7 separate regions of the Homo sapiens genome follow, and regions 2, 3, 4, 5, 6 and 7 are each linked to region 1. Evidence: promoter capture Hi-C in 16 types of primary human blood cells and fetal thymus (Javierre and others, 2016). All regions are on one chromosome and are shown on one strand. The core of a region is centred on a gene start or on the middle of the fragment in contact, and the rest is flanking DNA. Distances in the headings are between cores, read along the strand shown. Region 1 holds the start of RLIG1 (RNA 5'-phosphate and 3'-OH ligase 1). Region 2 overlaps SNRPF-DT (SNRPF divergent transcript). Region 3 has its middle 12 kb from the start of CCDC59. Region 4 overlaps METTL25 (methyltransferase like 25). Region 5 has its middle 9.5 kb from the start of CRADD. Region 6 holds the start of SOCS2-AS1 (SOCS2 antisense RNA 1). Region 7 overlaps MRPL42 (mitochondrial ribosomal protein L42).

What was found. Contacts are between HindIII fragments. The CHiCAGO score rates a contact against its expected background, and 5 or more counts as called.
Region 2: a contact is called between a fragment that was not itself captured here and the fragment with the promoter of RLIG1 in region 1, in 1 of 17 cell types (naive CD8 T cells). The highest score is 5.3, in naive CD8 T cells.
Region 3: a contact is called between a fragment that was not itself captured here and the fragment with the promoter of RLIG1 in region 1, in 2 of 17 cell types (total CD8 T cells and naive B cells). The highest score is 7.0, in total CD8 T cells.
Region 4: a fragment that was not itself captured here is called in contact with the fragment with the promoter of RLIG1 in region 1 in 1 of 17 cell types (naive CD8 T cells); the score reaches 6.8 in naive CD8 T cells.
Region 5: a contact is called between a fragment that was not itself captured here and the fragment with the promoter of RLIG1 in region 1, in 1 of 17 cell types (total CD8 T cells). The highest score is 6.8, in total CD8 T cells.
Region 6: the fragment with the promoter of SOCS2-AS1 here is called in contact with the fragment with the promoter of RLIG1 in region 1 in 2 of 17 cell types (non-activated CD4 T cells and total CD8 T cells); the score reaches 8.0 in non-activated CD4 T cells.
Region 7: a fragment that was not itself captured here is called in contact with the fragment with the promoter of RLIG1 in region 1 in 1 of 17 cell types (naive CD8 T cells); the score reaches 6.6 in naive CD8 T cells.

What each region holds. Positions count from the first base shown.
Region 1 is chr12:88,033,244-88,037,444 of GRCh38, reverse strand. It overlaps RLIG1 (RNA 5'-phosphate and 3'-OH ligase 1), which reads right to left and starts at 1,909. Exons shown (of 7, transcript NM_001009894.3): 1 at 1,707-1,909. The coding sequence starts at 1,796. It overlaps LOC107984542 (a long non-coding RNA gene), which reads left to right and starts at 1,949. Exons shown (of 3, transcript XR_007063395.1): 1 at 1,949-2,031; 2 at 3,098-3,734; 3 at 4,177-4,201. The HindIII fragment of the contact is 2,128 bases long and covers 1,355-3,482 here.
Region 2 is chr12:95,845,036-95,849,236 of GRCh38, reverse strand. All of the region lies in intron 1 of SNRPF-DT (SNRPF divergent transcript), which reads left to right. Among named protein-coding and RNA genes, the nearest start is that of SNRPF-DT, 12 kb to the left of the region's middle. The HindIII fragment of the contact is 991 bases long and covers 1,405-2,395 here.
Region 3 is chr12:82,343,970-82,348,170 of GRCh38, reverse strand. No RefSeq gene overlaps it. Among named protein-coding and RNA genes, the nearest start is that of CCDC59, 12 kb to the left of the region's middle. The HindIII fragment of the contact is 231 bases long and covers 1,682-1,912 here.
Region 4 is chr12:82,362,023-82,366,223 of GRCh38, reverse strand. The region is part of intron 1 of METTL25 (methyltransferase like 25); the gene reads right to left. Among named protein-coding and RNA genes, the nearest start is that of METTL25, 5.6 kb to the right of the region's middle. The HindIII fragment of the contact is 5,535 bases long and covers 1-4,201 here.
Region 5 is chr12:93,665,763-93,669,963 of GRCh38, reverse strand. No RefSeq gene overlaps it. Among named protein-coding and RNA genes, the nearest start is that of CRADD, 9.5 kb to the left of the region's middle. The HindIII fragment of the contact is 174 bases long and covers 1,976-2,149 here.
Region 6 is chr12:93,569,018-93,573,218 of GRCh38, reverse strand. SOCS2-AS1 (SOCS2 antisense RNA 1) reads left to right here and starts at 1,821. Exons shown (of 4, transcript NR_038263.1): 1 at 1,821-1,954. It overlaps SOCS2 (suppressor of cytokine signaling 2), which reads right to left and starts at 544. Exons shown (of 2, transcript NM_001270471.2): 1 at 183-544. The coding sequence starts at 321. RefSeq lists silencers at 1,098-1,407, 1,418-1,467, 1,828-2,107, 2,478-2,667, 2,728-2,777. The HindIII fragment of the contact is 2,692 bases long and covers 668-3,359 here.
Region 7 is chr12:93,471,495-93,475,695 of GRCh38, reverse strand. The region is part of intron 2 of MRPL42 (mitochondrial ribosomal protein L42); the gene reads right to left. Among named protein-coding and RNA genes, the nearest start is that of MRPL42, 6.1 kb to the right of the region's middle. The HindIII fragment of the contact is 4,058 bases long and covers 16-4,073 here.

The DNA.
Region 1 (4,201 bases), core at 660-3,159:
CTGCTCTTTGCTATCGACATATCCAAAGGACAACACGAGACACTGAGGGGTACACAAAGTTCTCCTTCTCCACCTGTCATAAAAGGCTTTAGACTATTACCGGAAAAACAAGGTACGTGTATTAAAATAGTGAATATCAATTGAGTGGCCCTCTACAATTTCTGGGTAGGGGAAATCACTGAAATGGCTAAATTGATAAGATTTTATGGAGAAGAACTGACTTGAAAAATTAAAAACACTCTAGAGGTGATCCAGAGTGAACAGTCTGAGCAAAAATATGAGACAGGATTGTGGTTGATATGTTCACAGGATGAAATAGATGGTTAAAACAGAATCCACTTTAAGGACGATGGAAGGTAGATTGAGCCTCATTAGTGGGAGGCCCTGAATTATAATTAAGAATGTGGATGCTATGCTATAAACGATACTGTAAGCTGTTCTTAACTGCAGAGAGGTAAGAGAAGGGGCTGCTTATTTTCCCTGGTGGAGAATACTTTCACAAACTACTCCCCTCAAACATACGAAGTTGAAAATCACAGTAGAGTGAAATACTAAAACAGATGATAATGTTTCATATGGATTACATTTGTTACAGCTAAAAAAAAAAGCCAATTACTGCTACAAACATTGAGTAATAACTGTGGTATTCTGACGAGGAAAGAACATGGTGATGATCAGTCTGAGTGGCAAGTAAGACCAGTTAGGTGGTGCAATGAGCAGGACATGAAATATTAACTGTAACAGCTGTGACAGCACTAGAAAGCAGGAAAAGATCAGATGCTATAAGGTAAAAAGCATCAAGGTGAATGGAAAACTGGCATGAAATGATTCCAGGGTTCATTCTTTAATTCAACAAATATTTATCCAGTGCCTACCACGTGCCAGGTCCTAGAAGCTGGGACTAAAGATAACAGGGCAATCTTTGCCTTAAACAAGTTTTAGTCCAGAAGACGAGAAAGCCAGTGCCAATGATGAAACTCAAGTGAGGTGGATTTCCAATGGACATGTTGGTTTTGTTTGAAATCAGCAAAGTTGGGAAGCACCCAACTAATCACTGGGGATTCTACTGATCAAAGACTACAACGTTTTATAGTACAATATGAAAAAATTACCCAAATATAGGTTACTCACTAGCATTTACCGAGGGCACACTATGGAAAACACGTTGCTGCAACAGAAAACCTTGAGAACACCAAAGTTAGAATAAATTAAGTAATTACTGGTAATATGAGGTGTGAACTTCAGTGACCTAATTAGGCTACTGTCAACACCGCCACTGGTTCGGACAGAACAGGTAAAGCAAGTCTTCTAATATCCACCCTTTCTTACTGCACTCTTGAAAAGTAGTAAAGCTTGGACTGTGGCAATTACCTGATTAGGGGGTTTCCCCAAAAGGTGCTGACCTGAAAAGGAAGGGACATGCTGTGGATGTGAGTTATCCATTTCCTTGCGAGGACAAGTTTGAATCTCCTGATAAGGAAAATTCTTTCGCAAATTCCCTCCCTCACAACTAAGAAAAGTACAAGAACCTGGAGCTCAGGGCGTACGGAACTCCCACCCCAGACCTCCCCAGGGAAACCTACAGAGGTTCCTGGCCTGCAGGGCAGTTCTAAAGCGCCCAGCCGCCCTCGCCGGGTTCGCACTGAGCCAGCGCCGCGGGGAGGAGCCCACGCGGGCCGCCAAGCCTGCCCGGCGCTCCTCCGTACCTGATGCTCCCTTTTGGAGGAAGGCTCCTCTTTCACCTCCGTCACAAACACACACGGCATTTTCCGCTGCACGGAGCCCAAGCGCTTCATGATGAGCCCAACAAGCAGTGCGAATGGAGGGCGTGCTTTCGAGCGGCGCCCGGTCCAGTCGCGGAGAAGCCCTGAAGCAGTCACCCGCACGGCTCAGGCCACGCACACTCCGCGCCCAGCCACCGCGGCTGCGCCCCAACTACCAAGCCCAGCGAGGGGCGGGAACGCCCGTCCAGAAGCGGCTTCCTGGCCGCGGCGCCTTCTGGGAGTTGTAGTGCAGAAGCTGAGGCGCCTGGTGGGTTCCCACGTGCGTCCTCCGCCCCCCACCCTCGGTTTTAATAACCGTGAAAAAAAAAAAAAAAAGATGCGTTTCCCGAACGTGGGTACTTAGCAATACCTAGTAACTAATGATTTTTTGGGAAATTAAATAAGATCAAATTATAAGCAATGAACATTTCAGATGTCGATTTAACACAGTTCCAATGGAAACTGCTTGCCTGTTATCTTTAGTTCGTGGGGGAAGCACTGTAGAAGTTTAGAAATGGCTAGAGACATCCCCAGATTCCCAAGCAGAATGAAAACTTCCTTTCCGGTAAGACTATCAGAAAACCCTATAATAAAACACCTGGGATCAAAAAAAGTTGTCGTTTGAACTACTCCTTATTGTGCAGCATAGCATGGTCGAAATGATTCTGATGTTCTTTTCGGAGTGAGTGCGAAATTTCAGCCTTAGACTAATCCAAAAGTACAGGAATACCTACAACCAGATTTCATTCTCAAGTTTTTCATAAGAATCTTGTTTAATTAAAGGTGAGCTCCAACAGCCCAAATGGCTTGAGTAATGGTAGTCAATCAACTGCGAGCTAAAAACAGCCTTAACTTACTGCTCAAAAGAATATTTTGAGGGTAAGTGATAAGATGGACAATGACTAAATAAAATAAATACTAAATATTTAGGAATAGTAGCCTTTCCATCTCATTGAATGTAGTAGTTCCTAGCCTGAAGTTGTAGGGGAATTTTGACTTTACTGCCATCCTTTATGGGCTTGGACTAGGCCCAGGTCTCATTTCTTTGTCTTATCTGCATGTACTCAACTGTCCAGCATGTTACTGACTTAGCCCTTGGAAAAATTAAACAACTATATCTCACTTAGAGGTATCTAACTAGTAAGGGGGTTCTCAAAGAATAAAACATCTTCCTTTAAAAAGTTCACAGTTATATTGAATACTGACAGTGAAAAAAAATAAAATTTAAAAAAAGTTCACAGTTTTTTGATTACTGGATTCAGAGGGGAGGGAGGAAGAAAGAGATTTGCCATTTCAAAGTGTTTACTTTCTTTTCTACTATCTTTTTCTCACAGGAAAACACAAAATGTTCTCCCACATCACACCCCGCCTGCATTTATCAAAAAAGAAAACACCTGATGCTGGCTGTGTGCTGTTGGAACCAGAAACTTTTTAGCATATTATAGTCGAGTGCCAGTGACTTCTTTGTTCTTTCAGAGGCATTCTAAAAAGCGGCGTGTTTCACGAATCTCAGAGACAACAACTTTCACAACTATCAACTGTCACCTCCCAAACTGCCACAGAACCTTTTAAGTCCAACATTCTGTCATTTGTGGGAAATACTCATCTTCTAAAACACACTCTACTTATTCTTTGAATAGTAGTTGCAAAGCTAGTCATCTCTCAGGAAGCACTTTCTATTTCCAAAACTTTGGTTTCATCAGTACCTGGAGCAAAGCTTCTGGCAGAAACACAAATCCTCATCAGGGGAGAGGCACAGGATCAACTCACGGTTATAAACTGGACTCCTGCTCTGACGGGTAGCAGCCATCAACTTTGCCCGATTCTCATAATTCTGAAGGGTCACCAAGGAGTTGCTACCAGCCACTGTACTTAAAGTGGTGTCACAGGATTACAAAATAGAAGAAAGTCTTTCTTCTCTGACTAATATGTTAGTGCTCTAGTAAGCATCAAAGATGAAAGACACACAATGTGAGCCTGCTTTGGCCAACACAAAGTACTTACAGAATTTTCAGGCCTACTTCCAGCCCTGGAGACAAATTTCCCATCATTCTTCATTACAGGAGTAATCATCCTCATAGGGCTGTAATAGCTTTTTTTTTTTTTTAGATGGAGTCTCGCTCTATCACCCAAGCTGGAGTGCAGTGGCTCAATCTTGGCTCACTGCAATCTCCACGGCTTGGGTTCAAGCGATTCTCCCGCCTCAGTCTCCTGAGTAGCTGGGATTACAGGCGTGTGCCACCACGCCCAGCTAGGTTTTGTATTTTTTTTAGTAGAGACAGTGTTTCATCATGTTGGTCAGGCTGGTCTTGAACCCCTGACCTCATGATCTGCCCACCTCTGCCTCCCAAAGTGCTAGGATTACAGGTGTGAGCCACCACGCCTGGCCGTAACAGCTTTTTTTTTTTTTAAGACCAGAATGAAATTCACAACAGTAA
Region 2 (4,201 bases), core at 651-3,150, 7.8 Mb before region 1:
CAGCGGGTGGCAGTGGTGAATTTGGAATAAGAGTTCTGTTTGCCACATAAGCACTTCAAAGTTAATCAGTACAAATAGGACTTCACTGTTCTCAAAACACTAAAGGAAACAAAACAAAACCTCATGGAATTTTCCCCATAGTATCCTGTGCCATACAGTCTCCCCCCACCTCCTTCACCCCTCAAATGTCTCCATTGAATCCAATTTTAAAAAATAAAGCTTATTCTACTTCCTCATCTATTACCCTGTTGCCAGAGGTATCTGACCTCCTTTCCTTCAAAACAAACCGAAGACCTGGACATTTTAGTTGGATATGGGTAACCTTTGTTGGTTACCCATGACTAGCAGCCTAAAACAAACTCCTTCATCTCTTTCCCTTCTGTCCCATGAACCGCAAAGCTGGCCCTTGCACCGCCGGCCATGCTTTTTCTCACAACTCCACGTACTTACACAGGACGTTCTTACCACCTAGAAATCCCTCCCCATTTGCTTTGCCTGAAAAATGCCTCCTCATCTAATCTCCATGGCCCCACTCAAATGGGCACTTCATATCTGAAGCTTTCTCTGACTTCCCTAGGTAACTAATTGTTCTGTCACATGGGCTCTACCCCACCTGTTTTAGCACTAACTACACTCTCTTTTAGAGAAAAAGGTATTTTATTCATTAACCCTTTGTTGCTATTACTAGTCATTTACTAGCACATAATTAGTTCCCTGGCACATAATGGCAAATTTCTGGAATGAATAAATTAATGAATAACTGACTTGAGAGACTTGGACTTTAAAAATTTGCACCAATTCAAACATATATATATATATGCCAAAAAAAAGGGGGGTGGAATCAGGGTGTCCACCCTTCTTACTCAAAAGAATGGAATATACTGAACAGTAGAGCATTCTCCTGCATCAGCCTCCCGAGTAGCTGGGACTACAGGCGCCCGCCACTGCGCCCGGCTAACTTTTTTTGTATTTTTAGTAGAGACGGGGTTTCACCGTGTTCGCCAGGATGGGCTCGATCTCCTGACCTTGTGATCCACCCGCCTCGGCTTCCCAAAGTGCTGGGATTACAGGCATGAGCCACCGCGCCCGGCCCTAGATAGCCTATATATTCTATTGGCTCCATTACTTGTGCTATTAGCCTTAACTTCTTGATTAGGGAACTATCTGCCAGGTTTCTTCATTGCAAAGTTACCTTTTAAAATTGTATTATTAAGAAGTATTTTGTGAAGGTACTTTGAGGCTATGTAGTTATCTCATTCCTCCTCAAACTTTCACCTACTGCATATTAGCATCCACTGTATTTCTGAGCTAAATCAGTTACTTATGCTGGCTGCCAAATGGTGATTTTCTGACTCCATCATTTCTTCTCCATGCATCAGTTGGCATTCCACTGTAAGAAAAGCTTTCTCCTTTTCCCACTTATTTATATCAGTATGGACTCATAGATTCTATTTTATTTAGTGGGTTAATCATGTCATGATTACTTATTTTGATGCTCTTTATTTTAAGGACTCATGAATTTCTATTTTATTACATGAATTTATAATCTGTTACTATTGTTATTTCTCTGCCTTAATTGTCACATATTTGGACAGGGGGATCCCCCATTAAGCTGTCTTCTGTGTTCTTTTGACATGTCATCCTCATTCTTTGAGCATTTCCTTATTTTCTGTCCCAATAAGATGTTCCCTGTCCCAAACCTGGAATCAGTCAATTCTCCAAAAAACACTGCTTCGTTTTAGTGGAGAATGGCATTTAGGAAACTAAAGATTGGTCTAGACAATAGGCACGCTCCTTGGTAGGGGGGTGTTGGTGCTTCCAGTCCCTCTCACTGGACAAAACTAGAGAACGTATGCATGTGTATACATACATACATGCATGCATATATGACCATATCCATACTTGTTTCAATATCGCTATTGAAAATTCCAGTTCAACACCACATGGCTTATTTTAGTTTTTTCAGTTTCCATATTTGTAGTCCCTTCCCCAACAGTTAGAAAACTGTCTCCCTTCATCCTCAATTTGTTTACTTATCTGATCAATCCCCTCCATGTAACCAAACTTCCATCACCACTACCATCCCCCCTCCCACCCAACCCAGCAAGACAGCCTTGCCTGACTCTAACAGCATGAACTGGGCCACCACTCCAGAGCGCGCTGACCTCCCCATTCCCACTTTGCTCAGCCCCACCTCATACTTTTAGACAGGATTATTCAGAAATGAAGGATAGACAGAAGCAAACTATAAATCCCCTTTAAACTGATGTTTATAATAAAAACTAATACAAAAGAAAAAATATAGAGGGAAAGAATTTTAATTTTTTCTGGACACCCTCCAATTGTTTCAGTATACCAGTATTCCAAGTAAATAAAAAAAAAATTTAGTCAAGCTTTATTATGTGATACTATTTTAATGTGAAAATTGTGAGGAAGGGCTATTCTTCTTATTCTTTTCCAGTTTCCTTTTCTCTTTCCATTTCTTTTTTTTTTTTTTTTTTTGAGACAGAGTCTTGCTCTGTTGCCCAGGCTGGACTGCAATGGTGCGATTTCAGCTCACTGCAAACTTTGCCTCCTGGGTTCAAGAGATTCTCCTGCCTCAGCCTCCCAGGTAGCTGGGATTACAGTCATGCATCACCACACCTGGCTAATTTTTGTATTTTTAGTTGAGACAGGGTTTCAACATGTTGGCTAGGCTGGTCTCGAACTCCTGACCTCAGATGATCCGCCTGCCTTGGCTTCCAAAGTGCTAGGATTACAAGCATGAGCCACCATGCCTAGCCTTCCATTTCTATTCTATCTCTTCTATTTCATGGGTGGCCGAAATAAGAGCAAAGGAATTATATCACAAATTGATCTAATAAAATACACAATGCTAGAAAAATCATTTGAGAAGTGTGTGACTGAAGGTAAAAAAAAATCTCTTATAAAAAATCATATAGTCAATATTTTAAGAGAAGTTCATAAATATGGTGATTAACTCTTAGGAAAGAACCTATTATTTATCAGTATATTAAAGTCTTACTGAAGTAAAGTAAACAGGATAGACTGGTAGATTTTAAGGCAAATTAAAGCAAAAAGATTAAGGATGAGAGAGGGAGCTGTTATTTATGGAAGGAGACTTAGTTAGGATTGAGGAAAGGAACTATAATTTATAGAGGGTAATTAGGTTGGGATTATGCTCAGCTATGATTAACAAAGACCCAAATTAAGGATGATTTAAACCAGTTGAATCATACAGTTTGGATATATGTCCCCCTAAATCTTATGCTGAAATGTAATCCCCAAAGTTGGAGATGGGGCTTAGTGAGAGGTGTTTGGGTCACGAGGGCAGATCCTTTATGGCTTGATGCTGTCCTCATGATATTGAGTGAGTTCCTGCGAGATCTGGTTGTTTAAAAGTGTGTGGCACCTCCAGGTCCTCTCTCTCTTGCTCCCCTTCCTGCCATGTGAGACGCCGCCATTCCCTCTTTGCCTTTTGCCATGGTTGGAAGCTTCCTGAGGCCTCCCCAGAAGCTGATGCCGGCGCTATGCTTTTTGTACAGCCTGCAGAACTGTGAGCCAATTAAACATCTTTTCTTATAAATTACCCAGCCTCAGATATATCTCTGTAGTAACACAAGAAGTGCCTAACAAAAAGAAAGTTTATTGACCTCTTTTGTAAAGGTGAATAGTTCAATACTGGGGTGACGCTTTGCTGCTTGAAATCTTCAGAGACCCTGACTGCCCCTAGCTTTTGATCTGCCCTCTTAGGCTATGACCCTCATCTTCATCATCCCAGATGGAGCTCTAACTACCACATACGTAGTCGAAGGGTTAAATGGAGGAAGGAGGGAAAAAAGGGCAAGCACCAGCTATCTTTAAAGGAAATTTTCTGGAAGTGGCTGCACAATTCTTTTCCTCATAGCATGTTGACCAGAACCTGGTCACACGGCCACACTGGCTGCAAGGGAGGATGGAAAAGGATTCTTACAGTCCCAGTGGCCCTATGCCCTGCTGAGAATCAGGGGTTCTAACACCAGTAGGCTGTTTGGGGTAGGCAACCATTGATCTCTATTGCCAGAGGGTCTACTGGATGTTGTCTATTTCCTTATCATAAAATGGGTTAAATTGGCCTGGTGCATGGCACATGCCTGTAATCCCAACACTTTGGGAGGCTGAGGCAGGCAGATGACTTGAGGTCACGAGTTTGAGACCAGCC
Region 3 (4,201 bases), core at 548-3,047, 5.7 Mb after region 1:
CAATGACACTCCTCTAAGGACCTCAGTAACACCCCATTGTCTGCTCTGTGTTTTATCTATTTGCAGGGTCGGCCTTCCAGTTCCTAGAGGATATGCATGCTGTATTTTCTACCTTAAATTTCACCACTTTATCTCAGTCTGTTCTTCAGAGAACAAATAAAATAACTGGGGAGGATGTCTCCAGCAAACACTGATAGGCTATGATTTTACCAGACTTGTAACTTTTCCCAGTTTCAGTTGTGTGAAACTAACTACAACTAACTTATTGCTCCAACTAAATTATTGCCACTCACTCTGTAATGGTGTTATGGAATTAAAGTACACCAGAAGGCAGCACATTGGAACAACCCAAATTACAGCAGATCCTTTGCATCTGTTGGACTCTCCTGGTGCACTGTTAGATCAGACTACTTCTAGTCTTCAGGCTAAAGATTCTACTGATGAGAGAAATATTTGCAATTGACCAAGTAAGGTTCAAATAAATCCTTATAACCCCCCACCAACGTCATTCCAATATCTACACAAACCTGAAGAAATCACAGGAATAAAATCTATTATTGAGTCTTTATAAGAATAAGGACAGCCATATCTCATCCTTGCAATCTTCCCATATAGCCGTTTAAGAAGCCTATCAAGAAAGGATACCCATTTATTCAAGAACTCAGGGTAAGCAATAAAATTATGATTTCTAGATTCCTGGTAGTTTCCAATAGGAACCTGTCTTGTCATCCAATTGCTGAAGAAGTAAATATTTATTTCATAGTGGTAGATGTATGTGCAGCATTCTTTAGTACACATGTAGATACAGTTAACATTTGTTCACTGTTTTTGTGGGAAAATTAACAGCATATGTGGCTATATACCATAGTTGCTCCACCCCCCACCCAACCCTCTGCATCCCTGGTTTTGCTTTTCAAAGTTTCAGTTACGTGTGGCCAACTGCAATCCAAAAATATTAAATGGAAAATTCCAGATTCCTAAGTTTTAAATTGTATGTTGTTGTGAGTAACATGATGAAATCTCACACCATCTCATTCTGTCCTCCCTGAAATGTGAATCATATCCAGCGTATCCCAGCAGTGTATGCTATCTGTCTTAGGCACTTAGTAGCCATCTGGGTTTTAGATCAAAAAATAATAATAATATGTATATAGAGTTTGGTTCTATCCATGGTTTTATGCATCCTCTAGGGGTCTTGAAACATATGTCCCACTGATAAGAGGGGTCTACTATACCACATATTGGATTTATGGACTCCTCATCAATTTGTTTTCAATCTAAACAAAATGACTTTTCTTTGAGGGTCCATTCTCACACAATATGTAGATGATATTTTGCAGTGCCCTCTTGATCTAAGTATTTCACAGAGACTCCATATTTCTTTTCAAGATTAGCTGAAAAGGGGCATAAGGAATCTAGAGAAAAGTGATTTTGCCAAGAAACTGAACAAATTATTTGAGTCATGATCTGTCAGTACATGGGTATTTTTCGTACACCAAAACAAAGAAAATTCCATTTTACTAAAGCTCTAAATTAAAAGACAATGAAAAAATTTTTAGGATTGACTGGTTATTGCAAGCAATAAATACCTATTTTTTTAAAAGTTGCTCAGTCTTCTTATGAACTTACTATGACAACAATTCCTGAGACTTTCTCGTGTGATATAAAAGTAGAAGAAGCTTTCTCATCTTCGAATTCTTCTCTTTAACAACATCCCACTTTGGGTATCCCTAAATCATCTAAAAACCTTCTCTCTCTTGTTCAAGAAAGACAAGATGATGCATTGGGAATATTAACTCAAGAGAAGCCTGTTTATTGTCTCTCTTAGCATATCCCTTGGTTTGGTAACTAAGATCTAACCCAATTTTCATGTTTGCAGGAGGTGGCAGCAGCTGCCAAACTGGTGAAAGCTTCTGCCAATGTGGCATTTACTTTTCATTAACTCTGTGGTTTGCATGTACTGGGCAATCACTGTTACTTCTAGGCAACACTCGACATTTATCTATCAACAACTTTTACATTTATGAAGCCCTTTTATTCTTTGTGCATCACTATTTACCATTGTACAAATTGTACTCTTATAACTGGAATTCTTCAAGATGAAGGGAAAACATGACTATAGCAATAACTCAGGAATTAAGCATACCCAGGTCAGACCTTACAAACACCTTTTTAGTTAATTCTGATTTAATATAGTTTATAGATGGGTTTTTACTTTAAAAAATGACAATGGCATCCTCTTCTTTCTGTATCCACTGAAAATGCAGCCATTAAAGCAGCTCATTACATTGTATTCTATCTTCCCAGGTAGCTGAATTAATAGCTCTGACTAAAGCTTGTATTGTGGCAAAAGACAAAAAGAGAACAGATGTGCTTTTAAGAATTGTTCATGATTTTGGAATGTTATGAAAACTGGAAGGATTTATGACCTCTTAAGATATTTTGACTACCAGTGGAAAAATATTAATGTTTTAGTGAAAGTGATTAAAAACTCACAAGGAGATCCTAGTTATTAAGATAGAAGTGCATACGCAGATCAAAATCTGAGGGCAGTGGTCTTGCAAGGTTACATCTAAATGAGCTGCTTTTCACATCGCAGCTAAAAGGGATGCTTTAAAATGGACATCTCTCTCCACCAAACTTTCAAAAGAAGTATTGTCTCAATTTAAACTGGCTATGGTTGACTTACAGTGATTAGCTCAACCTTCTGAAAGGCAAAGTTGGGGATCCCCTTTCCATAAAGATAGATTTTGGCAATTTTGGGATTTAGTGCCCCATAGCACCACAATCCCACCAATGAACCCAGGTCAGATTATTCTATGATTGTTCACGTTATAGAATTAAAAAAACTACTTTTGCATTAAATAAGTAATGGTAGATAACAAGCATAATCCAGGTACATCTGTTAAGGTGAGGCATGGTTCAGTTCCTCTACTCAAGACTCTTGAGGTTTTGCAGATAGGCTTTATACAACTGCCTAAATCTTTAGGCTATGTATACACATTAGTTATTGTTGGTAAAAGTTTCTGGCTGGATAGATGCTTTTCCTTGCCAAAGAGCTAACACTGTCACAGTTGTTAAAATATTAAACCATACATTCCCAAACGGAAATACTCATTTCATGAGAATAAGCATAAAGAAACTCTGTTAGATCTTTCCACTAACCCAGAAAATTCACTGTTAGCATTACCCCAGTCTTAAAGAGAAGTAGAATGAGTAAAGGAGACACTGAAGATGACACTGTCCAAATTTTCATAAACATTTAATTTTCCCAGGTCTACATTTTCCCACTATCATTAATAACCATGTAGTCCTCTCCTCAGAGCTCCCATGGGCTTTCTATAAGATCATTACAAGACACCTTCCACCACTAGGAAAAACTTTACTGATGCATGCAGACCTACCTGGATGGTGTCAGAAACTAACCTCCTTTACTCAGTCTTATGCACAGCAGGGATGAGCTACCTCTTCAAAGGAAACAACTCAACATTTTGCATGACCTCCAACCCAAGAAGTGTGTCATTTAGAAGACATATTGTATTAGTTTCCTAGGGCTACAATAACAAAGTACTACAAGGTCAGTGTCTTAAAACACAAAAATGTATTGTCTTACTGTTCTGGAGGCCAGAAGTCCGAAACCCAAAATCAAGGTGTAAGGAGGGCCATGCTCCCTTTGAAGATGCGTCACAGGGAAAGATTGGTTCCAGGATTCTCTTCTGGCTCTGGTAATTCCTTTGGCTTATGGCATCATAACTCCAGTCTTCACATGTTATTCTTCCTGTGTGTATGTCTCTGTGCCCAGATTTTCTTTTTTATTAGGACACCAGTCATTGAATTAGGGTCTACCCTAATTACTGCATTTTAATTTGATTTCATATGTAAAGATTATATCTCCAAATGAAGTAACATTCTGAGGTCCTGGAGGATATAACTCCAATGTATTTTTTTGAGGATACACAATGCATAACACATCAATGTAAAAATGCTTTACAACATTGCTGGGACACCGTTTTTGTTTCTTCTGTGTCACTGTGGAAACAACTGCCAACCCAAATCAGTAGGTTTCTTTCACATGAGATATTAAACTGAGGCTACATCAAAAGCCTTCAGAAGCAGACAACTTTAAGAGACAGTCATCCTGCCCAATAACCCTGAACCAAGGAGATGACAGTGGTATCATCTTCTGTCCCTGAGACAACAA
Region 4 (4,201 bases), core at 1,179-3,678, 5.7 Mb after region 1:
ATGTATTAGTTTCCACTGAGAAATATACCTATAACAATAATCTGTAACACTCATTTGTTAGGATAGTCTCCTAATTTTAGAATTACAATGAGAACAAATGAGGCCAGGTATTCTTTTTTTTAAAATTTTTTTAAATTTTTTTGAGACGGAATCTCACTCTGTTGTCCAAGCTGGTGTGCAGTGGCGCAGTCTCGGCTCACTGCAAGCTCTGCCTCCTGGGTTCACACCATTCTCCTGCCTCAACCTCCCGAGTAGCTGGGACTACAGGTGCCCGCCACCATGTCTGGCTGATTTTTTGTATTTTTAGTAGAGACGGGGTTTCACTGTGTTAGCCAGGAGGGTGTCGATCTCCTGACCTCGTGATCCCCCCGCCTCGGCCTCCCAAAGTGCTGGGATTGCAGGCGTGAGCCACCGCGCCCGGCCGAGGCCAGATATTCTTAAAATTTTCAGCAAGCTAAGTAAGCTGCTTAAGTTGCTTCTGTTGTTTTGATCTATTTCTGTTTCATAAAATATTTTAGCTATCCTGACTTAGACTATCTCTCCCCTCTTGCTTTTCAGAAGAATTTTCTAGATTCCATTAAACAACAATTAATTTCTGAAGATCAATGATGATTCTGCTGAGAATGTTACAGATTTACACTTACAGTCATTACTTCCCAAGAACACAGTCTGGTTTCCTTGAAGGAGCTATAATGAAATCTTAATCTCCAAAATAAGATATAGGTCATATTTATCCTATCAGCAAAATATTTAGAAGCTGTCTCTACTGGCTTTTTTGCTGCAGATGGTTAATCTCGCCTATATTATGTACTAACTTTTAGACATTTTAACCTGAAGTGATACTTGTTCTGATTTTATGTCCAAATTCCCAGGGTATTTTATTGTAATCTGTAATGTACTAAATAAAGTACTATATTTCCACATAGGGAAAGAACAGTTATTGATTTGTGTCTCTTCAAATAAATTTAAAAATCTATTAGTTGGATCATATAACTAATATTTATTATCATACACAATGATCATAAATATAACTCAGGGATCAACCAGAAATAATATATGTCTAGTTGAGTACTAGGTATGTGCAAGGAGTGCCTTCAATAAGACTCTTTATTAGATCTATGTTTAACTTCATTCTTTCAAGAATTATTTAAACATGATGTACACAATAAACATACATAATTTTTATTTGCCAATTAAAAATAAACAATTTTAATGTAAAAATAGAATCATTTAATTTACTCATCTATAAACAGAAACTGTTTATGATGCTGAAAATAGTGAAAAAGACAAACATTGTACCTTTGTTTTTTGATAGTTTATAATTTAGTTGCAGATACAGACAAGCCAACAGACAATAACAATAGTATGTTATTTATTAATATGGCAAAAAATATATTTGTTTAGAACATAAACTTCCAGGAACTCTGGACAATTTATTTCTTCCAAGTAAAGACCTAATTATACCATCACTACCAATCATCATCACAACCATCACAATCATGTATTAGCCACAATTTATTAACCCATGCTATATTCTCAGTTCTATGCTAGGTGCTATGTATACATCATCTTTAATCTTTGCTGTCCTAGAAGGTAGGTAATATTATCCCTACTTTTAAAAAAGGAAAGAAAAAACCCCAGATGTAACAGACAGATGTCAGCTCATAGCTGACCTTGAACTAACATGTAGGCCACAGTCTTTCCTACTAAACATGAAAAATTTCTCAGTACACCAACATCAGACAAGGTTTGTGACCATGCCAACTTCATAATCATGTCTGAGTGCAGACAAAAACAAGAACGTCATGTAAACACAAAGTTGCCACAAAAGCATCCCCGTAGGAAAAGTTCACATGGTATGAAACTGAGACCTCATGCCAACAGCCTGCACCAACTAGCCACCTCCGTGAATGAGATATTATGGCCACCTATGCGAATGAAATATTATGGCCACCTATGTGAATGAGATAATCACAGAGGCAAATATTTCAGCCTCAATCAAGCCTTCAGCAACTACAGCCCCAGCCAACTTCTTGACTGTGACCTCTTAAGATCCCAAACCAGATCCACCCAGTTAATCTGCTCCTGAATTCCTGACCCACAAAAACTGATGAGATAGTATAGGTTTAAACCACTTGTTATGCAGCAATAGATAATACATAACATTAATACAATTGTGTGTCGGTAAGTGTGTACTTTTCATTTCAAAGGGGCATAAAGTAGGTACTATAATTAAATATTCCTTAATACCATAGTTTCCTTTAATTCTCCCAGTGTATTTTCTTGGAGCTCTTTAAACATATTTATAACAGCCACTGAAATCCAACACGTTAGCCCAATTAGGATCAGCACTTATTGACTTACTCTTTTTTTCCTAAATACGGGTCACACTATCCTTCAATTCTTTCATCATAGGTACTAAAATCCAGCATTAGGGCTTACTTGGAATTAGTTTCCTAAGTTAGAGTCACACTTTCCTTTTTTTTTTTTTTAAACATCTAGTTTTTTTTAGTTGAAAAATGGAATGGCAGATACTTTATTGTAGTGAATCTATTTTGTTTTCCTAAGGATTTGTGGTGGTTGTTGTTCTATTAATAGTGGGAAGTCAACTTGTTTTGACTCAAACTGTGAAAACTATCCCCCCTTCAGAGTGCAGCAGCTGATGTCTCTGCTTAGTTGCTTTTTATTTACCCACTGTCTGGTGGTATACCTGAGCCTGCAGAGTTTAGCAGTCAGATAAAGATTTGGGTAGATTTTCTAGTCAGATTTTGAGGCTCACCCTTTCTGTAGTTCCTTTTTTTACAATTCAAAGACTCCCTAGTGTAAATTTCCAGTTGCTCTGCCAAACTTGAATTTTGCCCTTTCATACAAGAATTCAATAAGGCTTCTGATATTTACCACCCAAGTTGTATGTACTTTAGGAAATACACTCTGTTGAAGGTGCAGCAAACTTGTGGGATCTCTAGCCAGGGGAAGCTCTGCCTCTCAAAAGTTTTTTGCCAGTGTTTCTGCTAGGATCTCTAGGTCTCCCAGGCATGTGGAGTTAAGAGATCATTTGGGGATTCAGGCAGCGTTTATACTCAGATCTTAGATCTCAGACCTTTTGTATCTCCTGTTTCCAGAATGTACGTCTTAAATTTGCACCTGCTCCGATCTCTGAATTTTGCCATCACCACCTTGACCTGGTAAGGATGTGGTATTCCACTGCTAGATCTACAGGGGCTAGGAGCATCTCTAGCAAGAAAGCCATAAACTCTGACTTCCTACCCAATCAATCACAGTCTTTCAATAGTAACCTCTTCTTATATTTCTGCCTTTGGCATTTTCCAGAATCTTACAGTTGTTTTTAATAATCTGGCCAGTTTTCATCATTGTTATCTGCAGGGGAATCTGACCTCTTCAAGCTACTGTTCCTTGAAATGTCCCTGGACTATTTTAATAGCCTCTTATATTGTATTCCTGTTTCTTCCCTTAATTTCCTTCACCTTTCTTACCTTCTCTTCTCCACACAGAAACCAGGTGATTTGAAACATAAATCACACGGTATCACATCACCACACAAAATTCTCAAAGAGCTTCGCATTTCACTCAGAATAAAAGCCAAATACTGAGTACAGCCTACAAGTTTTATGTGAGGATGTCCTGGGCTACCTCCAAATGCCATCTCTCACCGGTCTCACCAAGACTGCTCAGCTGTGTTTAAAATGCACCAAGCGTGCTCCAGCTTGGGCACCTGCTGTTCACTTCACGTGAAAGATATCCCTTTCTATATATTAGCTGAATTACCTTTCACAGTATCCCATCAGGCAGGTACTAAAGTTACCCCCATTTTACAGATGAGGAACTAATGTACAACGAGTTGAAGTAAATTGCCCAAGTTAGCACAGCTACTAAGTGCTGGAGTCAATATTTGACCCCAGGAAGTCTGTCTGGAAAGCCATAATTTATGCACTGAAAAGATAGTTATTTCTAACATATTTGCTTTTTATTTTAGAGAATTAAATATTTTATTCTAGTTCTTTTTAGACGAACAATGAAGAAGAAACTCTTAGGACTCTAATGAGACAAGAAGATCACCTGGCACATGAAACCTACTGAAATGGACACACTGAGGACTTTTAGAAAAAACTTTGTTCCATAAAACACCAAATGATTGTGCCGAACATCTGTTAGTGTGCTTTTCCAAACTGTGCATTGCGCT
Region 5 (4,201 bases), core at 813-3,312, 5.6 Mb before region 1:
TCCTAGTGGCCTAAGAACATCAGATATGTGGAAGGAAACATACTGCCTGATATGGCTTAGATCTGTGTCCCTGCCCAAATCTCATGTCAAACTGTAATACCCAGTGTTGGAGGTGGGGCCTGTTGGGAAGTGATTGGATCATGGGGGTGGAATTCCCCCATGCTGCTGTTCTCATGATAGTGAGTGAGTTATCACGAGATTTGGTTGTTTAAAAGTGTGTGGCACCTACCCCACACCCCTTGCTTCTGCTCAGGCCACATAAGATGTGCCTCTTTCCCCTTCGCCTTCTGCCATGATTGTAAGTTTCCTGAGGCCTCCCCAGAAGCTGAGCAGATGCCAGCATCATGCTTCCTTAGCAGCCTGTGCAACTGTGAGCCAATTAAACCTCTTTTCTTTATGCGTTACCCAGTCTCAGGTGTTTCTTTATAGCAGTGCAAGAACTCCTAGTGGCCTAAGAACATCAGATATGTGGAAGGAAAAGGAAACATACTCTTCTTTAAACTTTTGAGTGGTTTGTACTCCATCCCTAATTTAGACCGCTTTTTCTTGGGGCAGAAAATTAATTTTCCATTTTTTAGTCTCTACCCGACTCATCTGGTACTATGCACACAGCATGTGCTCAGTAAATGTTTGACCAACAACATGACTGTGCTATTGATTTCCTTTTACATACAGTGCCTAGCAGTAGGCAGTCAAAAATGTGGGTCAAAGAATGACTAGTGTATTACAATCCGACTTATTTCTGATTCCCATTCATGTATACTAAAGAATGTGAAAAGGCCAGAATTTCCTATCAATTTATTTCCATGTGGGTAATTCTATGAGGACTGTATTTTATTACTGTAAGCTTTTGTTATGAGTCATAGATACCTGAAAATGTAAGAATATACCAGGAACCTCTTCTCTTTTTTAACTCCCATTGTCGAGAAGTGAGAGTGTGCTCTTTCCCCTAACCATTCTCATCCCGCCCACTCCATTAAATATTATCTAAAGGCAAAAATCCCCCAAATGTTTCGCTATGACCTTGTGTATCCAGTTGTCTACTTGACACCTCCACTGGAGTTCAATAGGCACTTCAAACTTAATCTTTCCCAAACCAGACTCCTGATCCTCTCACTCCCAATTTACTCTACTCAGCCTGCTCCACTTCTGTAAATGGTACCACCATCCACTCAAGTCAAAGACTTCAGGGCTCCTCCTTAATTCCTCTCTGTCCCTCACACCTACTGTCCGACCCATCAATAAGTACTATTGCTCTTCCTCTACATCATCCCCTAACCCATTCGCCTCTCTCCATCCTAACCACCTCTACTCTCTTCTACATCATATCTTGCTTGGACCCCGGAACTTTGCTTCATCTTTTCATCCATAGAGAGGCCTTCCTTGAACACCCAATCTAAAATTGCTCCCCAGAGTCTATCACATTGCCTAATTTCATGTTTTTCTTAGCATTTATCATTACCAGTTAATTTTCTTATTTGTTTGTTTTTTTATTGGGAAGGAGGATATTTTCTGTCACTCCCCATTAAAATGCACGTCCATAAGAGTAGGGACTCTTAATGTCTTGTTTGCTTCTGCATTTCCAGTGTTTATTTATAATAGAGTTTGACACATAATAGGTGCTCAATAAATAGTCATTGAATTAAGAAATTAATGAATCAATTAGTGAATAAGCCTAATGTGTATTTGAACGTGAAAGATGAGCAGAATGCAGAACAACACAGTTTTTATGTAAGTAATAGATTCATTGAGACTAAATTTAAATTATCCAATTTCCTTTGACAGCTCCCACCCTAATATTTTTTAGTTAACAATCATTGAACATTTATTACATGCCAGAAACTGGACATTTTTTCACATATTAGCTCACTGAATTTAATTCCATCCTTGTACAGCCTTATAAAGTAACTATAACTAGTTAAGTGGCAAAGCCAGGATTCAAATAAAAGTCAGGCTTATTCCAGAGTCCCAAGCTTTTTATTACCATATTAATATGAATGTTCCTTTCAGATTGGCCAGATTCCCTAGAACACTCATCCAGCAAAGTAAGGTCAGGGCAGCTTAGCCTCAATGTAGAGCCCCATGGCTCTCCCCTAAAAGGCTGCAGCATTTGTGTGGTTTCCTTTGAGAGCACATGGACATCAAAGCTTGGCTATACAAGAGCATTCTTCCCATGACGCATATGCTGTGAGCACAGCAAGACATTAGCCAAAACAGCATTTCTTCAGTTAGTTAATTAATAAATATCTGAGTGTCCTGCTGAACCTGTACAATGATTATTACACATTTTCTAAGATTCAGGCCTCCAAAGTTGATACTTGACAAAATTTTCTTTTTACATACAGAAGGATTGGGTTCTTGTAAGGATCAAGTGAGCTAGTATATATGATATCTCTTTGAAAAAAATACAAACTATTACATAGAATGTGCACCATAATATAATCACAGAATTCTGGAAATGGAAAAGAACTAAGAAATGGCACCTAATTTTATGAAAGGGAACAGTGAGGCACAGAGAGGTAAAGTGACTTGTGGTTGAGGGGCTAGTAGCCTATAGAATGAAATTACATTGTTTACCAAATTCAATTTTCTTTCTTTTTTTTTTTTTGTTTGAGACGGATTCTTGCTCTGTTGCCCAGGCTGGAATGCAATGGCACAATCTCAGCTCACTGAAACCTCCGCCTCCCTGGTTGAAGCAATTCTCCCACCTCAGCCTCCCAAGTAGCTGGGACTACAGGTATGCACCACCACGCCTGGCTGATTTTTTTTTTTTTTTTTTTTTTAGTAGAGACCGGGTTTCACCACGTTGGCCAGACTGCTCTCGAACTCCTGACCTCAAGTGATCCACCCGTCTTGGCCTCCCAAAGTGCTGGGATTACAGGCGTGAGCCACCGCATCCGGCCCTAAATTTAGTTTTCAATCTGAATCTCAGCAGTGGTCCTTACAATCATCTTAACTGAGTTAACACACCTGATCTCAAACTTTCAAAATGATGCCAAGTTTATGATATTGATGTGGACATATTTTTTCTGGACCTTATATTTTATAAAACATTTTTCGAAGAGACCAGTCGCCCATATAATGAGCAGTAGGCATCGTTTCACCTTAATGTCTCCAGGAAAAACAAAACAAGACAAAATTACTATACATTTATGATCAATGATCTCTTCAAAAATTGTCACAGGTGGAACTGTAACATATGGCGCATTTGAACAGTAAAAGTCCTGCAGATGGACACTGTCAATGGGTGCTTTTTTCCCTAGTGACTCTCAACAGGAAGTGCCGACATTTGGAAATGTATGAAGATTTTTTGGGGGGTTGTCATAATGATTAGAGAAATCTCCTGGCATTTGGTGTCTAGTGGACAAGAATGTTAGTATAAATGGCCTGTAATCCAAGGGATAGTTCTATATAAAGAGCCATGTCACCCAGAATTCCAACAGCTACCCCAGACAACAGAAAAATGACTGCAAGCATCTGCCTGCTTGAGATAACTCCTTTTAATTATATATAAAGCATTTATTTTAATTTGGAGCTATCTTAGTTCATTTGGACAGCTATAACAAAATATCATGAACTTGATGACTTGTAAATAACAAAAATTTAATTTCACACATGTCTAGAGGCTGAGAAGTTCAAGATTAAGGCACTGGCAGATTTGGTGTCTGGGGAAGGCCTGCTGTCTGGCTCAGAGATGTCACCTTCTTACTGTGTCTTTACATGGTAGAGGGGATGAACTAGTTCTCTGGGACTTCTTTTATAAGGACACTAATCCCCTCCATGAGGGCTCCGCCCTCATGACCTAATCACCTCCCAAAGGCTCCACCTCCTAATACCATCACATTGGGGATTCAATTTCAACATAGGAATTTTGATGGAACACAAATATTCAAACGATAGCAGAAACTTTTACAAATAAAGAAGAAATTTATCAAAATGACCAAAAGCCTGGAAAAACATAATAGAGTTTACTAAATGCTTAATACTATAAAAAATAGTTTCAACATCTCTGGCAACATGGTGGATAAGAGATCCTGCAACCTAATGCTACACAATGTTAAAAATGCAAGATAAAATATAAAAGTTACTCTTTTATGAATGCATAAGCCTACAAAAAATAAGAAAATTGCTCTGAGGCCATGACCAGAGTGGGTGCATGAGTCCAGGGAGGTGGCTGAGCCTTGTACACCTGATACTCACC
Region 6 (4,201 bases), core at 572-3,071, 5.5 Mb before region 1:
GAACCACTTTCCTTACGCATTCCCAAGGACCCAGGACCCTGCGAGCGTGCTCTCCGCGGTCCCTTGGAAGCAAGGGACGTATTTCCATCTTATTCTTTGCTTCCCACCTCGACCCCGCTTCCTAGCTGCTTCCTTGGGGAGGCGCTCCCTCCCGCACGCGTCGCGGCCGATCGGCTCCCTACCTGTCTGACCGAGCTCCCGCAGGGCCTTCGCCAGACGCGCCGCCTGCGGGGATGGCTCCTCCGCCGACCCCGCGGTCCCCCACTGGCTCCGCGTCCCTTCCCCGCCATTCCCGGAGGGCTCAAGGCACCGCAGGGTCATGAGAGAAGGGTCACCGCGGCAAAGACAGGTGGCCGCCCGAGCTGGGGTCAGAGAAGGGTTCGCGTCCTTCCTTGAAGTCAGTGCGAATCCCAAAACGAGTCCCTGCGGGGTGTCCGAAATGGTGGCAGAGAGAGAAGGGATGGGGCTCTTTCTCCCCAGATCCTGGAGGACGGATGACAAAGTCCCTCGCAGCCGCGGTCACCCACTGATCGCCTACAAAGAGAAAGCGGGAGGTTGGGTCAGTCCAAACTGGACCCCTGCGGCTGGGGTGGGGGTGGGGAAATAGACGTGGAAAATCCCAGGGACTCCTCCGCCTCTACGTTCCTGCACCATTTAACCCCAAGCTTCCAGTTAGCGCCCTGGCCCAGCTCTAGAGAAAAGATAAAGAGAGCAGAGATCCAAGATAAAGTTGGCTGAAGAGGTGGGGGGCGGAGGTCAGGAGGAGGGTGAACAGGGTGTCTTCCCGCCCAGGGTCACTAGCTGAAATCAAAGACTGGCGACCTAGGAAGAGCAAATAGTCACCTGCAGATCCAGTGGGAATAGGCCCTTGTCAAGGACAAGTAGAAAAAATTAAAAAGGAAAGAACAGGAGAGATTCCCCAAATTGGCATTCCGGTCTCACACCTGGCGCAGCCCGAGGGCCCCCAGGAAGAAGCACCCACACAAACTTGGTTCTCCGCCCTAAAGCGCTGCGGGGCCCCGAGGCACCAACCCGGGGTGCGGAGGTGCGGGAGCTGCCGCATCTCCGCCCGGGAGGCTCCTCGCTCCCCTCCCCCCGCTTCCTGGTGCCCGCTCTGGCGGGGTTGGGGGTGCCGCGGCGGTCGCTCCCGGACCAGGATGGCTGCGGTGGTTCTCGCCGCCGCGGGCGCTGTCGAGGAATCGGCCCGAGCGCGCAGCCCTCGCGGGGCTCCGAGGCGAGGCCGGGGCCGAGCGGGCGGTCGCGAGCGCTGCGGAAAATGCAAACCACCAACGCCGCGCTCTTACCTCGACCTCGGCCGCGGCCGCCGCCGCCGCCTCCGCACCAGGCAGCCTCCTCAGCGGACATGGGGCGGGGGGGTGGGGGGAAAAGGGGAGGTGGGAGGGGCCCGGGAGAGGAGGGGCGTCTGCCCTTGTTTCCCCCGTTAACGTTTAATTTGGGAACGAGATGCCCGGGGATGCAACCAGCCCCGCGCTCGGAGGCGGCGGTCGGAGTTCCGTGCGCAGAGGGCACACAAAAGCCTCGAGGATCATTGCCTCGACCCCATCCCCCACCGCGCGGCGACGCCCCCTACGGGCTGGGACACCTCCACTCTCGGACTGCTGCCGGGTTTCCCTCCGGCTGCGACCCTGGAGGTGGGAAGGAGAGAGGGAGGGAGGGAGGAAGGAGCGAGGGCGGGAGGCAGGCCGGTGGGGAGGAGCGGGAGATCAGGTTATTAGGAGGATTATTAATTTGAATGGCAGTTTAGGGGAAATAAAAAAAAGAAACTCCAGACACTTCCAGACGCCGAGAAGGGGCTGGAGAAAGCAGGCAGCAACGCTAGGCCGCGGGGCAGAGCCGCGGTTCGGACTCTCTCTTCCCCGGCGCTCCGAGCTGCGGAAGCCCAGGCCGTCCGCCGCTCCCCGGCGCACGCGGCCGCGCCTCGCCGCCCTCCCCGGTAACTCTCCTCGGGGCGGAGCCTTCGGGCTTCCCCCACTACCGGTACCTGCCGCGGGCGCCCGAGCTGCGGGCACGGGGTATCCTGAGGCTGTGCACCCGGGACCCCGGCGCGCACTGTCCGCGGGCCACGCGGTGAGGGTGGCTGCGGGCGAGAGGGCTCATGCTTCAGGGGAAGCCCAAGGCCCGCCAGCCGCGGCGGCTGCGACGAGACTTGGCAAGAGTTAAACGTCGGTCCCAGGAGCAGCGAGTGCGCGCGACTTCCCAGACCGACGCGCCTCCCTTGCTCCCCGCCTCCCTCCCCAGTCAGCGCTCCGCTCGCGCCCCGCCCGGCTGCTGCGGAGGCGGCTTTCCAGGAACTTTCCAGGAATCGGCCTCACGTGACCGCGGGCCCCGCTACTGCTTTAAAGAGGCTCGGTCGCAATACACAGGCTTCAGGGAAGACCGGGTGAGAGCGCTCGGGTGCAGGGCGGGCGGTGTGCACGCCGGGGTCGGCCTGCCTCTGGCCCCACACCCCGGGGTGCTCGGGCGCAAGCTAGAGATCTCCCCGGCCACCGGCTACAGCCAACCCCGTTTCGGCGGCCGGAGCCTGCCCCCTACCCGGGCCAGCTGAGCGCCCGGGTTCAGGGAAGGATAGCGATCCTTGGCCCTTGGCCTGCCACGGGGGTGGGTTCCTCTAAACATCCCGGCGGCGCCCCCTCGATGCGACCCTCCTGGCCGCACTTTTGCGGGGGGTGGGCGTGCAGGAGCGACTGTGGGTCCTCGGAAACCAGACTCTCCGGCTCTAAGACACATCGATGGCGTGGGGACGCCGTGCTCGTCCCGGTGCCCACGGCCGGGGACCGGAGGCGGTCCCCTTGATCAGGTCCTGGAAGGCAGCGAGCGGGAGAGCAGCGCCTCCTTAAGCGGCGCCGGCCGTCCTTAGTCCCCTCCCCCTGGCGCTCCGGCTCCTTGTCACCCGCACCCACCCGGCTCCTCCCTTCCTCCTCCCCTCTGCTCCAACGTCTCCGGTAGACCCGGCGGCCCGCCCGGGTCACCTGCGCCGGCTGCTAAGGGGGCGCCCTTACCTGCGCGCCCGGAAGGGGCTTGGTGACTGGCCTCGGTTCCCTCAGTCCGGAGAGTGTCTCTGCCATTCCCTGCAGGGCTGACGCCCCAGGGCTGGGATTCGGAAGGATCTCGGCACCTCTACCCTACCTGGGATTCTCACCTCCAACCCCGTTGGAGGCCCCCTGGCCTTAGTGGAAACTCATCTCCTTGTCTGCGCACCCGCCCCCGAAATATGACCTACTTGAAATGTGACCTACTTTTTAAAAGAAACCCTTAACAATCACGGGAAAACCGGATCCAAAATTTCGATAAGCATTTTTCTTTGAAATACTATTCTATTGCATCACTGCTCGAAAGCTTGAAAGGTCAATGGCCACTTTTAGTTGAGGCCGCGGCTATGGGAAGTTGGGCGAGGAAGGGGGAGGGGTGGGAGGGAGGCGCGTCTTGCAAACTTTGCCTGGTGCCCCCCCTGCCGGCTCTGGGAGGAAACGGGAACCAGCTCCCAACCTTGGGGTCTGCAGCCGGGGACCAATGGTTTTCTCAATAATTTTCCTGCTTTTGAGTACATAATTCTATGCAGATGATAAGCAGATGAGTCGGGGAGGGGGGCATTTCCCAGCTAACAAAGAGCTTTGTTAACGCTGGAGCCGTGTGCCCTTAATCATGTTTCGTTTTTTAGAAAGAGCCTTTTATAGTGTGGGCGGAGCTAACTGAACCCTAGTTAAAATCCTCTACAAAGTAGTTGAATAATTTTGCACAAGGCACTTACCCTCTTTGGACCTCTGGCCCTTTTTATAACATGAAGGGCTAGATTCGGGTTCTGGGTGAGGGACTGGGATAAAGGAACAAATCAGATTCCATGTGAAGCCTGTGTACAGTCTGAGGCCCCAAGCCTTTTAAGAACCACTATGTCTACTAGGGTTAACTGCCCTCTAAATTGTCCTAATATGGCTTCTTATTCCTTGATGGAGAATCCTAGAGGAAGGGTGTACCCACACTTTAGCTTAAATAAAAAGGTATTTATTCCTAAAACTGACGGAGGGCGGGGAGGGAGCATGACCAAGTCTCCCTCTGTCGCCCAGGCTGGAGTGCAGGGCGTGATCTCAGCTCACTGCAACCTCCGCCTCCCAGGTTCAAGCAATTCTCCTGCCTCAGCCTCCCGAGAAGCTGGGATTACAGGCGCCCACCACCACGCCCGGCT
Region 7 (4,201 bases), core at 795-3,294, 5.4 Mb before region 1:
GCTTTTTTAAAAGCTTGTGAAAGATTCTCCTATGTTCAAAAAAGGGTATTCTTTTAATATAAAGAAAAAAATTTAAAAGTAGCTCAATATAGTTAAAAGCAAGTTTTGAATGCACCTTGGTCAATGCCAAGAATCAAAGTCTCAACAGAGCCTCTTGTTCCTGTGATATAGAACTGTAACCTATCCTGCCTTCCCTATCTCCATGCCTTTACCATGTCCTCAGTATGGAATTCCAGCCCCATTTTGTTCAAATACCCCTCATCCTTAAAAGTCAAATATTCGCCAGGCGCAGTGGCTCATGCCTGTAATCCCAGCACTTTGGGAGGCCAGGGCAGGTGGATCACTTGAGGTCAGGAGTTCAAGACCAGCCTGGCCAACATGGTGAAACCCCCTCTCTATTAAAAATACAAAAAATTAGCCGGGTGTGGTGGTGCATGCCTGTAATCCCAGCTACTCGGGAGGCTAAGACAGGAGAATCACTTGAACCCGGGAGGCAGAAGTTGCCGTGAGACAAGATCGTGCCATTGCACTCCAGCCTGGGCGAGAGTGAGACTTCATCTCAAAAAAAAAAAGGTCAAACACTCTTCTTCCATGAAATCCTTTTTACTCTCCCTGCCCCCAAGGTTCTTCACAGAAGAAAGAGTTGTCTATCTCAGCTCATTGCAACCTCCGCCTCCCATGTTCAAGCAATTCTCCTACCTCAGTCCCTCGAGTAGCTGAGATTACAGGCGCCCACCATGTCCGGCTAATTTTTGTATTTTTGGTAGAGACAGGGTTTCACTATATTGGCCAGGCTGGTCCTGAACTCCTGACCTTGGGTGATCAGCCCAGCCCGCCTTGGCCTCCCAAAGTGCTGGGATTACCAGTGTGAGCCACTGCACCTGGCCATATTTTATTTTCTTGTTTGACATCACTGGGACCTTCCTAATTATGCATGGATTGGGTTAATATTAAAAGAAGTTTATAAAGCTAGGCATGGTAGCTCACGCCTGTAATCTCAACACTTTGGGAGGCCAACACTGCTCAAGGCCAGGAGTTTGAGACCAGCCTGGGCAACACAGTGAGATATTATCTTTAAAAACTATTTTTAAAAATTAACTGGGCATGGTGGCATGCACCTATAATCCCAGCTACTCAGGTGGCTGAAGCTGAAGGATCACTTGAACCTAGGAGGGTGAGGCTGCAATGAACTATGATTGTGCCACTGAATTCTAGCCTGGGCAACAGAGCAAAATCGTTTCTAAAAAAATTAAAACTGGTGGGGTGTGGTGGCTCACTCCTGTAATCTCAGCGCTTTGCGAGGCCAAGGCAGCAGGATCGCTTGATCCAGCAGTTCAAGACCAGCCTGGGCAACATAGTTGGGTCATATAGTGAGACCCCATCTCTATTAAAAAAAAATTAATAATAAAAAATATAAATTAAAAAAAAACAATTTTGTATCTCTGAATATAAACCAACTAGATGATATACATTTTCACTGAAAGAAACATGACTGGGTGACAGAATTAAGTGTTCTGAAATATGCAGACAAGAAAACTCAAGACAACAGTATTTTAGTTAACAAGAAACTCAGTAAAATTTCTACTCTGTGTTTACACAGACATTTGTTTGTGCCCTCATGACACACTTATCACATTCTGCCTCATATTCTGGGCATTCTTAGTGTTGCTAGATGTCTGTTTCACCTACAAGTCTAAATAAGTTCCTTAAGGCCAGGAACTGTACCTTGTTCATTACTGTGTCCCCTATAGTGCCTACACATTAAAAAGTGATTGCCGAACTGCCTCTCAAATGTTTCTGCATAACTGATGTTTGAAAAATTCATAAGGACTGGGCATGGTGGCTCACGCCTGTAATACCAGAACTTTGGGAGGCTGAGGCAGGTGGATCACTTGAACCCAGGAGTTCAAGACCAGCCTGGGCAACATGGCAAAACTCCATCTCTACAAAGAAATACAAAACATAGGCCAAGCGTAGTGGCTCACGTCTGTAATCCCAGCACTTTGGGAGGCTGAGGTGGGTAGATCACCTGAGGTCAGGAGATCGAGACCAGCCTGATCAACATGGTGGAACCCCATCTCTACTAAAAATACAAAATTAGCCGGGCATGGTGGTACATGCCTATAATCCCAGCTACTTGGGAGGCTGAGGCAGGAAAATCACTTGAATCTGGGAGGCGGAGGTTGCAGTGGGCCAAGATCATGCCATTGCACTCCAGCCTGGGCAACAAGAGTGAAACTCCATCTCAAAAATAAATAAATAAATAAATAACCAGACATGGTAGTACACATCTGTAGTCTTGCTTACTTGGGAGACTGAGATAGCAGGATCACCTGAGCCCAGGGAGGTCGAAGCTGCAGTGGGCCAAGACTGCACCACTGCACTCCAGCCTGGGCAACAGAGTGAGACTTCACCTTGAAAAAAAAATAAGGAAACATTCATTACCTGATATTTTACCAATGGAAGTAATTCTGGATATAGAAGTAGCAGAAGCTCTAAATATATAATTAGGACCAATGCCAAAGTTAACAGCAATTAAGCTCAATGTGCCAAAAGAATTTCAATTAACAATAATTTCTGTAATTTATGAGTTATTCTTGTTACATATATATATTTAATTGCATTTTGAAAGAGCTATGAAAGCTAAAAGTTGTCCCATCTTCAAATGCTCAGTATTTTACCTTGCTACAGAAAAGGAAGTACAGTAGAAAGTATACAGGACAAAGTAAGGTGGGAGATCCAGATTTTGGTCACAGTTTTTGTTTACCAAATATGTGACCCTGGGTGAACTTATGAGGGCCACAGAACTCAAGTTTCTTTACCTTCATAAAGAGGATAATACTACATGGGCTACCAAAATCAAAGCTGTTATAAGGATCAAATGGCTTAACATGCTTTGAAAACTGTGAAGTGTTCTACACTCCCGGGCTGACTGACCATTTGGGAAATTTTAAAATATTCCTTCTAGAATATAAGGAAGGCTTTTTATTTTTGCTCACTGAACTTTCTTCCTTAATCATGATTTCGCTTTGCCTCCAATCTTACTGTCCTTCCCTTTTTTATTAAACATCAATAATAACAGTAATGAAACTTTCTTTAATTTTAATTTTTTATTTTTGAGACAGGGTCTCACTCTGTCTCCCAGGCTGGAGTACAATGGCACAATCACAGCCTCGAACTCCTGGGCTCAAGCAATCTTCCTACCTCAGCCTCCTGAGTAAGCTGGCTCCCTCCTGGGACCACAGGCGTGTACCACCTCGCCCAGCTAATTTTTGTAACTTTTGTAGAAATGAGGTTTCCTATGTTGCCCAGCCTGGTCTCAAACTTCAGAGCCTGCTTCAGCCTGCCAAAGTGCTGGTATTACAGGTGTGAGCCACCCTGCCCAGCCCTTTACTTTCAATAATAGTAGCAACAGGAACTTTGCAGTATAAGGGACTTTTCGGATATAAGAAGTTAGGTCACTGAGTATTAGGATAACTGATAATGGAATGATTTTCTAGGGTAACCTAATTCTTAGTTAACTAGATATTTTGAGAGTTAACTCTAAACCATTCAGATTACTTGAACAAACACTGATAGATCTCCTATCATGAATGAGAGGCCCCAGGGACACCAAAATGAATTAGATCCAGTACAAACTTAGTGGGAAATCCAGTGGGGAAAAAGATATATAAATAATTTTCAATTATTCAGGGACACATTAACTGGTTTTCTGATGGGCCTGTGTGAGGACTAATTGTTTCAAAACATAGTCTATGTAAAAACTGATTGGATGTGACTTCTCATTAGCCTAGGAGCTGGGTTCCTGCAAGGCAAAGAGGAATCTAAGAAGTAAGAGTAAGGGTCTTTCTCCCAATTCTCAACAACAAAAATGCTCCTAGATAATCAAAAGCTGATTGCAGTTTTGTTGTGACTTATTTTGGTTTATATCCAAAGTCTCTTAAGCAATGTCCTGTTCTATTTACTGAATTCTAAGTTGATTTTACTTTGAATATAATGTAATAAATGTTTCTATGTTTAGGGCCCTAAAAAATGGGAGAGTGGGGCAAGCAAGGAAGCAGGGATGGAAAGCTTCCTATAAGAGCAGGATTTGGTGGCCAGGTGCGGTGGCTCATGCCTATAATCCCAGCACTCTCGGAGGCTGAGGTGGGCAGATCACTTGAGGTCAGGAGTTTGAGACCAGTTTTGGCCAACATGGTGA